3 separate regions of the Homo sapiens genome follow, and regions 2 and 3 are each linked to region 1. The links are contacts of gene promoters, found by promoter capture Hi-C in blood cells and fetal thymus (Javierre and others, 2016). All regions are on one chromosome and are shown on one strand. Each heading gives the region's core, a stretch centred on a gene start or on the middle of the fragment in contact. The rest is flanking DNA. Distances are from core to core; before and after follow the strand shown.

Evidence for each region. The method cuts DNA at HindIII sites, captures the fragments that hold promoters and counts their contacts. A CHiCAGO score of 5 or more calls a contact.
Region 2: a fragment that was not itself captured here is called in contact with the fragment with the promoter of CCDC57 in region 1 in 6 of 17 cell types (activated CD4 T cells, naive CD4 T cells, total CD8 T cells and 3 more); the score reaches 12.7 in activated CD4 T cells.
Region 3: a fragment that was not itself captured here is called in contact with the fragment with the promoter of CCDC57 in region 1 in 1 of 17 cell types (activated CD4 T cells); the score reaches 5.2 in activated CD4 T cells.

Annotation. Positions count from the first base shown.
Region 1 is chr17:82,211,237-82,214,871 of GRCh38, reverse strand. CCDC57 (coiled-coil domain containing 57) reads left to right here and starts at 2,030. Exons shown (of 19, transcript NM_001394669.1): 1 at 2,030-2,087. RefSeq lists an enhancer at 677-1,619 and a silencer at 1,570-2,489. The HindIII fragment of the contact is 36,876 bases long and covers 1-3,635 here.
Region 2 is chr17:82,546,088-82,549,722 of GRCh38, reverse strand. All of the region lies in intron 1 of FOXK2 (forkhead box K2), which reads right to left. Among named protein-coding and RNA genes, the nearest start is that of FOXK2, 28 kb to the right of the region's middle. The HindIII fragment of the contact is 1,030 bases long and covers 1,220-2,249 here.
Region 3 is chr17:82,497,282-82,500,916 of GRCh38, reverse strand. No RefSeq gene overlaps it. Among named protein-coding and RNA genes, the nearest start is that of TRX-CAT1-8, 4.3 kb to the right of the region's middle. The HindIII fragment of the contact is 2,729 bases long and covers 334-3,062 here.

The DNA of each region.
Region 1 (3,635 bases), core at 781-3,280:
TTTTTTTGGCCAGGCATGATGACTCACACCTGTAATCACAGCACTTTGGGAGGCCGAGGCAGGCAGATCACTTGAGGTCAGGAGTTTGAGACCAGCCTGGCCAACATGGCAAAACCCCATCTCTACTAAAAATACAAAATTAGCTGGGCATGGTGGCAAGTGCCTGTAATCCCAGTTACTCAGGAAGCTGAGGCAGGAGAATCGCTTGAACCTGGGAGGCGGAGGCTGCAGTGAGCTGAGATCACGCCGCTGAACTACAGCCTGGGCAACAGAGCGAGACCCTGTCTCCCGAGCTCAAAGGATCCTCCCTTTGGCCTCCCAAGGTGCTGGGTTCACAGGTGTGAGCACTGTGCCCGGCCCACACATGGGTTCCCATAGATCCCACTTTACAGGCAGGGACACTGAGGCATGCAGAGCCGGGATACAGACCAAGCAAGTCCTGGCTCCTCTTCTGGGTGTCCCAGCCCGTCTCGGACACCCACGCTTACCCAGGCCTGGTGGCTGCATCGTGGACATGGGGGCAAGGCAGCTCTCTGGGTGGGCAGAGGCAGGAGCTGAGGCAAGGATGTGGGCATCCTTTTGGGTACATCTAGTCCTAGAGCTGATCCAGGGGCCAGTCAAATGTGCAGCCAAAGTCGGGTCAACCCCAGCACTGTCCTGTGGGTGGGGGTAGCAGGGAGCCAACAGTCCAGGCCCTACATCCTGTTCTAATAGAGTGACAAGTCTGATGAGGCTGGGGGTGCACAAGCACTGAGAAGGCAGCAGGACAGGGAGCCAAACACATGGGGTGGTGGGGGAAACCAGGGAGCTGGACACAGGGTGGGGGGGTCCTGGGAGTTGGACACATGGGCCAGGTTGGGGGTCCAGGGAGCTAGACACAGGGGGTGGGGAGGGGAGTCCAGGGGACTAGACACAGAGTGGGGGGTGGGTCCAGGGGGCTAGACACACAGTGTGGGGGGTGGGTCCAGGGAGCCGGACATACACATGGGGTGGGGAGGGGGCATCCAGGGAACCAAGTCTAGGCAGAGGCAACTGGCGCAAAGGACCTGAGGCAGAAGAGGGTTTGGTGTGTGAGGCGGGACTGAGGACTGTGGGCGAGGGAGACAGCTCTACCAGGACGCATGGTTCGGGGAGGACAGGCTGCAGGGTGCCTGGGCTGCAGGCACGGCACGGAGAGGAGTGATCCAGTGTTAACAATGTGGGTGGAGGATGACACCAGACCCCTGGCTTATTGCCCCACCAGGGGAATTCCCAGACACCAAACACCCCCTCCACTCCCACGCAGAATTGCGGGCTGAGGGTTCGGGTGAGCCAGGCTGCTCTGTCCCGGGGCCGGGCTCTGTTCATCCATCCGCAGATGGATACGGACACGTGCCTTTTTCTGAGGATGTGAATGGTTGGGAATGGCTGTGCCTGAGGATGTTGTTCCCACAGGATGGTGGGGGCGACTTCGGGCCTCGGTGGGTCCCGACCCCCCTCCTTCCCCCAGTTCCCTAATCAGGGTCTGAGCGACCGCGCGCACGGCCCCTGGGCCCCGCCGGTCTCCGAGCCCGTGGGCAGCGCCGGGAACTCGTGCCCCGGTGGCCGCAGCCGACCCTTAGGCAGGACTTCGTGGCGCCCCCGGCCCGAACAGACCCCCACGGGCAGCCTCGGCCGCCCCGTGCTCCCTTCATCTCAGGGCAAAAGCTCAAGTCAACCCTTCGGGACCGCGAGCCGGGCGGCCTCAGGAAGCGGGCGCCTGGGGACCCTCGGCCGGGCCGGGGGCGGCGAAGGTGGGGGCGCCTCGCGCGGCGGAACCCGCCGTCCCCATAGCCCGGAGCCCCGTCCGGAGTCGCCCCGCTGACCGGTGAGGAGGCCGGGCTCCCTCCTTCGATCTGCGGCGGTGGTCGGGTCGGCCGGGGCGCCCCTCGGACCCGGGCGCAGCGCGGAACCCGGCGGGGCGGGAGGGGCCGGAACCTAGCGCCAGGGACCCCGTTTCCTGTCGGCGGGACCCGAGCGCTGCACCGAGCGCAGCCGGACGCGGCCGACTGACCCGGTCGCTGTGGCAACGCGGCGGGACCTGGCCAGCGCTGCTGGCGGGCGTTAGGGTGAGGTGCGGGCGGGCGGCGTGGGAGGCGTGGGAGGCGTGGGGGGCGCCGCTCCGACCACTCTTCCTGTAGAAAACCCCAGCAGCTGCCGTCCTGTCGGACGCAGCGCTTTGGTGGGGACCTGGAGCGCGAGGTCGACCCTCAGAGCTCGGCCAGGCCCGGACCGGGGATCCCCTCGCGGAGGCTGCGGCGGGGCGGGGCGGGGGTTGCGGCCGCGTGGAGCGGGAGCGTTCCCTCGGTCTCCCGTGGGTGACCTGGGGCGGTGGGCGCTGCCGACCAGGGCCCCGCAGCCCCGGGAGAATTCCCCGGGTTCCGCCGCCGGCAAGGACGGCTCCGCGCCCAGGCAGCCTTACAGTGTCTGTGAGTTTAAAAAAAAAAAAAAAAAAAGAGAGGAAAAAAAAAGGCCGGAGGCGGTGGTTCGCGCCTGTAATCCAGCACTTTGGGAGGCAGAGGCGGGCAGATTGCTTGAGGCCCGGAGTTCGAGACCAGCCTGGCCAACATGGTGAAACCCCCTCTCTACTAAAAATACAAAAATTATTGGGCGTGGTGGTGCACGCCTGTAATCCCAGCTACTCCGGAGGCTGAAGCAGGAGAATCGCTTGAACCCGATGTTGTAACTGAGGGAGTTATAGAGAGAACGCCACACTCTGAGACTACTCAGGAGTCCTGTATTGCCAGCGACTGACAGACTGCTAGAGCTGCAAATTCCCTCGGCCCCGAAGAAGGGGCTAGATTTCTTTTGATACCTTGGTCTAAATAGAGGAGGGGAGGCTAGCTGAAGCGATTTTTTTACAGAAGCAGAATAGGCAAAAAGTTAAAAGATAAATGGTTACAGAAACAGTTACAGGAAAATAAACAGTTCCAGGTACAGGGGCTTAAATTATCACAAAGTGATAAACGCAGGGGCTTTGGGTACCATCAACCGAGCGCGTTCCCAGGAGCTGCTGGTACAGCTTGCTCCAGTTTCTTATCAGTATTTTATCAGTAAGCGCATTCCTGGATGTGCTTGGAGTCAGCTTGCCCCAGTTATGTCCTTAAGGGACGGGGACAAGGGGCTGCAAGCGAAGAAACCAAAATGGTGTCTGTCCGGCCCTCTCAGCTAAGAGAGAGTCAGTCAGGTTAAAACAAAGTAGGGTACCACACCGAGAGGCGCAGGTTGCGGAGAGCCAAGATCGCGCCATTGCACTCCAGTCTGGGAGACAAGAGCGAAACTCGGTCTCAAAAAAAAAAAAAATTATCTGTAACTTAGAAAAAGGATACAAAAGGAGCACAGATTTCCCGTGTGCCTTTTGCCCAGAGCCCCTAGAATGCTGACCTCTTAGAGAACCACAGTTCATTCAGCAACATGTAGACGCTGGCGTTCATGTTGGTATCATCCCATGATCTGGTCTCCAGTATTTATTCTTGCTTAGCAGCTACCTCATGGATGACTTTACCGTGGTCCAGGATCCAATGATGAGTCCACTATTTTATAAAATGCCCCCCAGTTCGGGGGCATTTCTCTGATGTTTTGTCATAATTGATTTCATATTACTGATTTTTGGCAAG
Region 2 (3,635 bases), core at 485-2,984, 340 kb before region 1:
CAACAACGCATGTGATGAGCAGCTCTGTAAGTGGCTATCGAGCATCCAGAGTTTTCCTTTGGCTTGGAGAGTAATTTGGGGGGTTTTGGCCCCCATCTCCCATTTGCTGCACTGCAACTGTAATAAGGAGAGTAATTTGGGGGGTTTTGCCCCCCATCTCCCATTTGCTGCACTGCAACTGTAATAAGGAGAATAATTTTGGGGTTTTGGCCCCCCTCTCCCATTTGCTGCACTGTAACTGTAATAAGGAGAATAATTTTGGGGGTTTTGGCCCCTCTCCCATTTGCTGTACTGTAACTGTAATAAGGAGAATAATTTTGGGGGTTTGGCCCCCCTCTCCCATTTGCTGTACTGTAACTGTAATAAGGAGAATAATTTTGGGGGTTTTGGCCCCTCTCCCATTTGCTGCACTGTAACTGTGATAAGGAAGTTGCTGGACAGGGCTGCCAGGTCTGCAGTTCGGTGTGGCAACTTGGTGTTGGGGTAAAGGCTGGCTCAGGAGCACACACCCTCACACTTAAGATCCTCACACTCGGAGCTACAGGCAAGGGCCACACCCAGAAGAGGAGGGAGGTGGACTTCAAGTGGCCTCGTAAAACAAAGACACATTCTCCTATAATGTTCAGTCATTCGGGATGTGTTTTAGACTAAGGAAGATTTCCACTCCAGGTCCTGCCAGAGGCTGCTGTGAGAAACTATCACGCTGGTCCTCTCATCTGGATCACCAGACAACAGCTGGGGATCTTAGTGCAGATGGCAGGGTCAGGCTCTCTGGAGGTCTCACGGGTGGTGGCAGTGGAAAGTGCACAGCCCTCCTGTGCCGATGCATCGAGACGCAACCGCTCCTCGGAGGTGAGAATGCTCTTGAGATCATTCTACCCCACACCCGCCCAAATGACATTCACGTAAAACCAAAAAGGGCTCTCTGCCAAACACCCATGCCTCCCCCAGGGTGAGGTCACGGGAGAGGCTGTGGGACAGCGCCTGGGTCCTTTCCTTCCTCTATTCAGTCCACAGCAATTCCTTCTGCTAATTCAGCTGAGCAGTAGCCTCCAAATGCTTTTGACTGTACACCTCTAAGTGAAAAATTAAGTAGAAATCAATATTTGAATATATGAAATACAGTATCAACAAACAGGGCAAAGGATGGAATGGGAGAAAATATTCACAATACACCTATCTCACAAAGGACTTCTGTTCAGGGTATATAAACAAAGCTTAATATTCAGTAAGAAGGTAAACAACCCATTAAAAATGGTCATTCACTACAGATGACATAGAAATGGCCAAAAGCACATGTAGAGATGCTCAACAGCAAGGCAAATTAAACCACGGTTGATGTAAATGATCCAAAGTATTAAAAAAAAATACACATACTGACATACCACTACACACCCAGATAATGGCTAATATAAGAAGACTGACAAAACCAAGTGCTGACAAGGATATGGAGCAACTAGCTGTCACATACTGCCAGCAAGAATACAAACTGGTGCAACTGCTCTGGAAAAGTGGGTCAGCTTTTCTGTGAAATAAATGCACACTGACCACCTGGCCCCACCACTCGTACTTGTAGTTATCTGCCAAGAGAAGTGAGAGCACCAGTTCACACAAATGTGACTCCTACACAGACGTTCACAGCAGCGTGATGCACAGCAGCCCAGACTGGACACTGTCTAGACAGTCAGCCGTAGGTGAATGGATCCACAAATGGGGGTACATCCATAGAAGAGAATCCACTCAGCTGCCGCCCAGCAATCGCAAAGGAAAACTGCCCACACAAGTAACACTGATGAACCTCAAATATACCATGTGAATAAGAGCGAGCCAAACACCAGTATATTCTACATGATTCCATGTTTATGAAACCCTGGAAGAAAACACTTCTACGGGAGGGGAGGCACAGAGTTGAGTGTCTGGGACTCTCCAGGGGGATGAGGCTGACTGCCAAGGGGCAAGAGGAAGGTTTGGGGTGAGGGGTAATATCTGGATCTATTATTTTGATTGTGATTTCGGCTACATGGTGTATACAGCTGTCAAAACTCTTTGAAAGGTACCCTTAAGTTTGTTTTATGTGAAATATTCCTCAAAAAAAAGTTTAAAGTAAAAATAAGCTGGCAACAATATATTAATATATGTATAAATTATATTACAGTATTGCACACTGTAAAACAGAAAAATAGCAACTAAGCAGGATGAAAAAAATAACCAGAAGTATTATTTTTCTTCCTAAACTCTTAAAACAAGCTTGTCCAACCCACGGCCCGTGGGCTGCATGCAGCCCAGGATGGCTTTGAATGTGGCCCAATACAAATTCATAAACTTTCTTAAAACATTATGATTTTTGTGATTTTTTCAGCTTACCAGCTCTTGTTAGTGTAGACAATACTTTTTCCAATGTGGCCCAGGAAAGCCTAAAGACTGGACACCCTGAATGTAAAGTATCACCTTGATCACTTCCGGGGAACCACAATGGAGAACCACAATACTACAATGTGAACCACAATACTACACCCTGAATATTCTAAACACAGGGAGTATGATGCTTAAGGTTGTAGCTTTAAAATCAGTAGTAATAGACAGTATACACTATAAGAGAGATCAGTGTATTCTTTCTTTCTTTCTCCTTCCTTTTTTTTTTTTTTTGATGGAGTTTTTGCTCCTGTCGCCCAGGTTGGAGTGCAGTGGTGCCATCTCGGCTCACTGTGACCTCCACCTCCCGGGTTCAAGTGATTCTCCCACCTCAGCCTCCAGAGTAGCTGGGACTACAGGCACCCACCACCACGCCCGACTAATTTTGGTATTTTTAGTAGAGACGGGGTTTCACCATGTTGGGCGGGATGGTCTCAATCCCCTGACCTCAGGTGATCCATCTGCCTCGGCCTCCCAAAGTGCTGGGATTCCAGGTGTGAGCCACCGCACCCGGCCTGAGTTCTTTATTTAAAAGCGAGTTTTAGGTTGGGCTCAGTGGCTTACACCTATTATCCCTGAACTTGGGAGTCTGAGGTGGGAGGAACACTTGAGCCCAGGAGTTCAAGACCAGCCTGGGCAACATGGTGAGACCCCCGTCACCGTTTAAAAAAAAGGAAAAGAAAAGCGAGGTGTTACCTCTGTTTGACACTGGGACGCAGCACTTCACTCTTGGGGCACTCTACAGATTACCTCTCCCTCCACTCGGGACCTGCAGCGAAGAGCTCCTGCATGTGCACTCAGACTCCTAGCTTCCCCACCACACTTACAAGGCGAGCTGCACCGAGAGGTGAACATTTGTTAATGTGCAGGAAAGTATTTTTAATATACCACGCTGGCTGGGTGCAGTGGTTCATGCCTGCGATCCCAGCACTCTGGGAGGCCGAGGCAGGTGGATCACCTGAGGTCAGGAGTTTGAGACCAGCCTGGCCAACACGGCGAAATCCCGTCTCTACCAAAAATACAAAAATTAGGCGGGAGTGGTGGCAGGCACCTGTAATCCCAGCTCCTCAAGAGGCTGAGGCAGGAGAATTGTTTGAACCCAGGAGGCGGAGGTTGCTGTGAGCCAAGATGGCACCACTGCACTCCAGCCTGGGCGACCAAGCGAGACTCCATCTCAAAAAAAAAAAAAAAAAAAACCAACCATGCTTGGTAGCAAGTAAGCA
Region 3 (3,635 bases), core at 449-2,948, 290 kb before region 1:
CTGGGCACAGTGGCTCATGCCTGTAGTCCCAGCTACTCACGAGGCTGAGGTGGGATGATCCCTGGAGTCCAGGAGTTTGAGTTCACCTGGCCAAAGAGGCTGGCTGGGAAGATCTGAGGCCCAGCCATAGGGCCCCAGGTAGGGCAGTGTCCACCCTGCCTCCTGGGGAAGCACTGGAGGAGGCATGGGGGTTGTGCTGGGCTCTGCAGTCCCTTCGACCCAGCTATGCTATGGCCAGCTGCCACGTGCTCACCTGGCCAGAAATTGACCCACGGGGCTCCTGACCACTAGCCCCAGGCAAGAGGAGCACACAAGGCTTGGGGAGATCAAGCTTTGAAATACTTCCCAACACACAGTCTGGAACATTCTCCGAACATCTGACTCCCATAGTGTGAGCAGAGAACCTACTCTTGAATGCTGGTCAGGATGGGAAATCCCTCCTGGAGGGCAGATTCTATGGAGCTGGTCCCTGCCCCACAGCAGAAATTTTGCTGCAGTGAACCATTTCTTGGAATGCCTGTGCTTGCAGGGCACACGCCTGTGGCAGCACCAACTGTGATCCCTGGAGTGTGAAGTCACATCAAGGCTTTGCACATCTGAAACATATGCAATTGTCCTGAGAAATTCTGGAAGTTCCAGAAGAAATAACACACAAATTGCTAATAACACAGCAAAAGTAGCTGAAGAGATGTGTGTTCTCAGGACAGAACCCCTTCACACACTCGCAAGTCAGTATGTGTGGTGTATTGTTATTTTGTTTATTTATTGATGGAGTCTCTGTCTGTCGCCCAGGCTGGAGTGCAGTGACATGATCTCTGCTCACTGCAACCTCCACTTCCTAGGTTCAAGCGATTCTCCTGCTTCAGCCTCCCGAGTAGCTGGGACGACAGGCGCATGCCACCATGCCCGGCTAAATTTTTGTATTTTTTTTTTTTTTTTTTTGAGACGGAGCCTCGCTCTGTCGCCCAGGCTGGAGTGCAGTGGCGTGATCTGGGCTCACTGCAAGCTCCGCCTCCCGGGTTCACGCCATTCTCCTGCCTCAGCCTCCCAAGTAGCTGGAACTACAGGCATCCACCACCACACCCAGCTAATTTTTTGTATTTTTAGTAGAGACGGGGTTTCACCACGTTAGCCAGGATGGTCTTGATCTCCTGACCTCACGATCCGCCTGCCTTGGCCTCCCAAAGTGCTGGGATTACAGGCGTGAGCCACCGCGCCCGGTGAATTTTTTGTATTTTTAGTAGAGATGGGGTTTCATTGTGTTAGCCAGGATGGTCTCGATCTCCTGACCTCGTGATCCGCCCACCTCAGCCTCCCAAAGTACTGGGATTACAGGCGTGAGCCACCGCATCCGGCCAGTGTATTGTTATTTTATTACACAATTGTGGAGCTCAAGACAAAGTACTGTATCACAACAGAAATTAAAAACACTAATGGTCAAAACCATGAAGGAAAAGAATCGTCGTAACTAAAAAAATATGGAGAATGAAAATGACGATACAGACATTATGAGAGAACACACCAAACAGAAAGCAAAGATGCAGAAGGGAGCTGAAGGTCACAGACAGGAAAACCACAGCTGGTCCAGTCAGCAGGACACACACTGGGCTGGCCACAGACACACCCACAAATTTGCTGGTTTCAGTACCACGCTGTCTCATTACACCTGTTACGACGAGCAGTAATTCCACTCAACACTTTTTAGTGGAAGATTTATTGTTCAAGATTCCGATCCTGCAACTTGCACTTAATCAACTAAAACACATCAGACAAAACAGATGCTTCTCAAAACATTTTGAAACCATTTTTTTTTTTGGAGACAGAGTCTCGCTCTGTCACCCAGGCTGGAGTCCAATGGCACCATCTCGGCTCACTGAAGCTCCGCCTCCCGGGTTCAAGCGATTCTCCTGCCTCAGCCTCTCGAGTAGCTGGGATTACAGGCGCCACCACGCCGCGCTAATTTTTTGTATTTTAGTACAGGCGGGGTTTCACCATGTTGTCCAGGCTGGTCTTGAACTCCTGAACTCAGGCAATCTGTCCACGTAGGCCTCTCAAAGTGCTAGGATTACAGGGGTGAAACACCACTCCCGGCCAAAATAGGTTTTTTTAAACAGAAAAACTGCCACCTGATGTTGGTTAGTCTTTCCTAAGACTAAACATTGCCTATGTTGTTTGGTTGTATAGGTTTTTAAACCAGACCGACATTACCTACATCAGGGAGTCTTTTACATAAATGAATACCGGTTTTTTTTTTTTTTTTTTTTTTTGAGACAGAGTCTCACTGTCACTCAGGCTGGAGGGCAGTGGCACGATCTCGGCTCACTGTAACCTCCGCCTCCCAGGTTCAAGTGATTCTCCTGCCTCAGCCTCCCGATAGCTGGGATTACAGGCACACACCACCACGCCCGGCTAATTTTTGTATTTTTAGTAGAGACGGGGTTTCACCATGTTGGCCAGGATGGTCTCGATCTCTTGATCTTGTGATCCACCCGCCTCGGCCTCCCAAAGTGCTGGGATTACAGGCATGGGCTACCGCGCCCGGCCCCATCAGTGAGTATCTTGAGAACCCTCAACAATCACAAAGGCTCCGCATAGCACACGAAGGATTTGTGGACTTGAGTCACACAGAAATCACGAACAGAATGTACGTGGTGTCATTAGTGAAGAAGAGTGAATAGTAAACATGGAAGTCAGCCTGCGTTTCTCCGGAAATCACAACGCTGGAAAGCTGGTATTAAGCCGCTCTGGGCCGGGCGGGGTTGCTCACACCTGCACTCCCAGCGCGTAGGAGGCCGAGGCGGGAGGATCCACGGAGCTCAGGAGTTCGAGACCAGCGTGAGCAACAGTGTGAGACCCACCCCCCCACCCACCCCCAGTCCTCTACCAAAGACAAAGGAAAAACGCTACCGGGAAGACGCGCGGAATTCCGGGCCAGTCACTGCGCGGGGCACTTGAAATGCCTGAAATCCTTCCCGTCACATAGGAGAGGTTGGGCCAGATCTGACAGCAACCCTCAAAGTGTCTAGAGCGTTGCCAAAGAGAATACACAGTGGACAGAAGCTTTTCTAAATGCCCCATAATAACAAGCACGTTTACATCCACCGGGGGAAAGGAAAGAAGGCCCTTTCTATTCTCTCCTAAAAGCAGCACCTTCAATCATCGCCGCGTCAAGCGGCAGAGCCTGCAGCCCGCACTTTAGGGCACCGCGTTCGTTTCAGGCGGGACTGGGGAGTTCTCCGAGCGCGGGGGGTGTGGGCGCCGCCCGTTCCCCGGCGACCACATTCGAATACCCAGCGTCTCACTGGGTTTCCTAAGGAGAGGCGCGGGCTGCTCAGCCCTCACGTGCTCGGACGCGGCCCCAGCGTCCCGAGCCTGTCCCGAGCGCCGAGGGAGGGCGGCGGGGTCTGGGTGGGTGGGAGGGAGGCCGGCGGGGTCTGGGTGGGAGGGAGGTCGGCGGGGGTGGGAGGGAGGCCGGCGGGGTCTGAGTGGGAGGGAGGCCGGCGGGGTCTGGGTGGGAGGGAGGTCTCCCGCCCCGCCGCGCTGTGGAGGACAACTCGCGCCTCCTGCTGCGCATGCTCGGACTGCGCACTCCCGTGAGGGCCGGGGCTGCGCGCGAAGGCGTCTGCGAGCAGTTG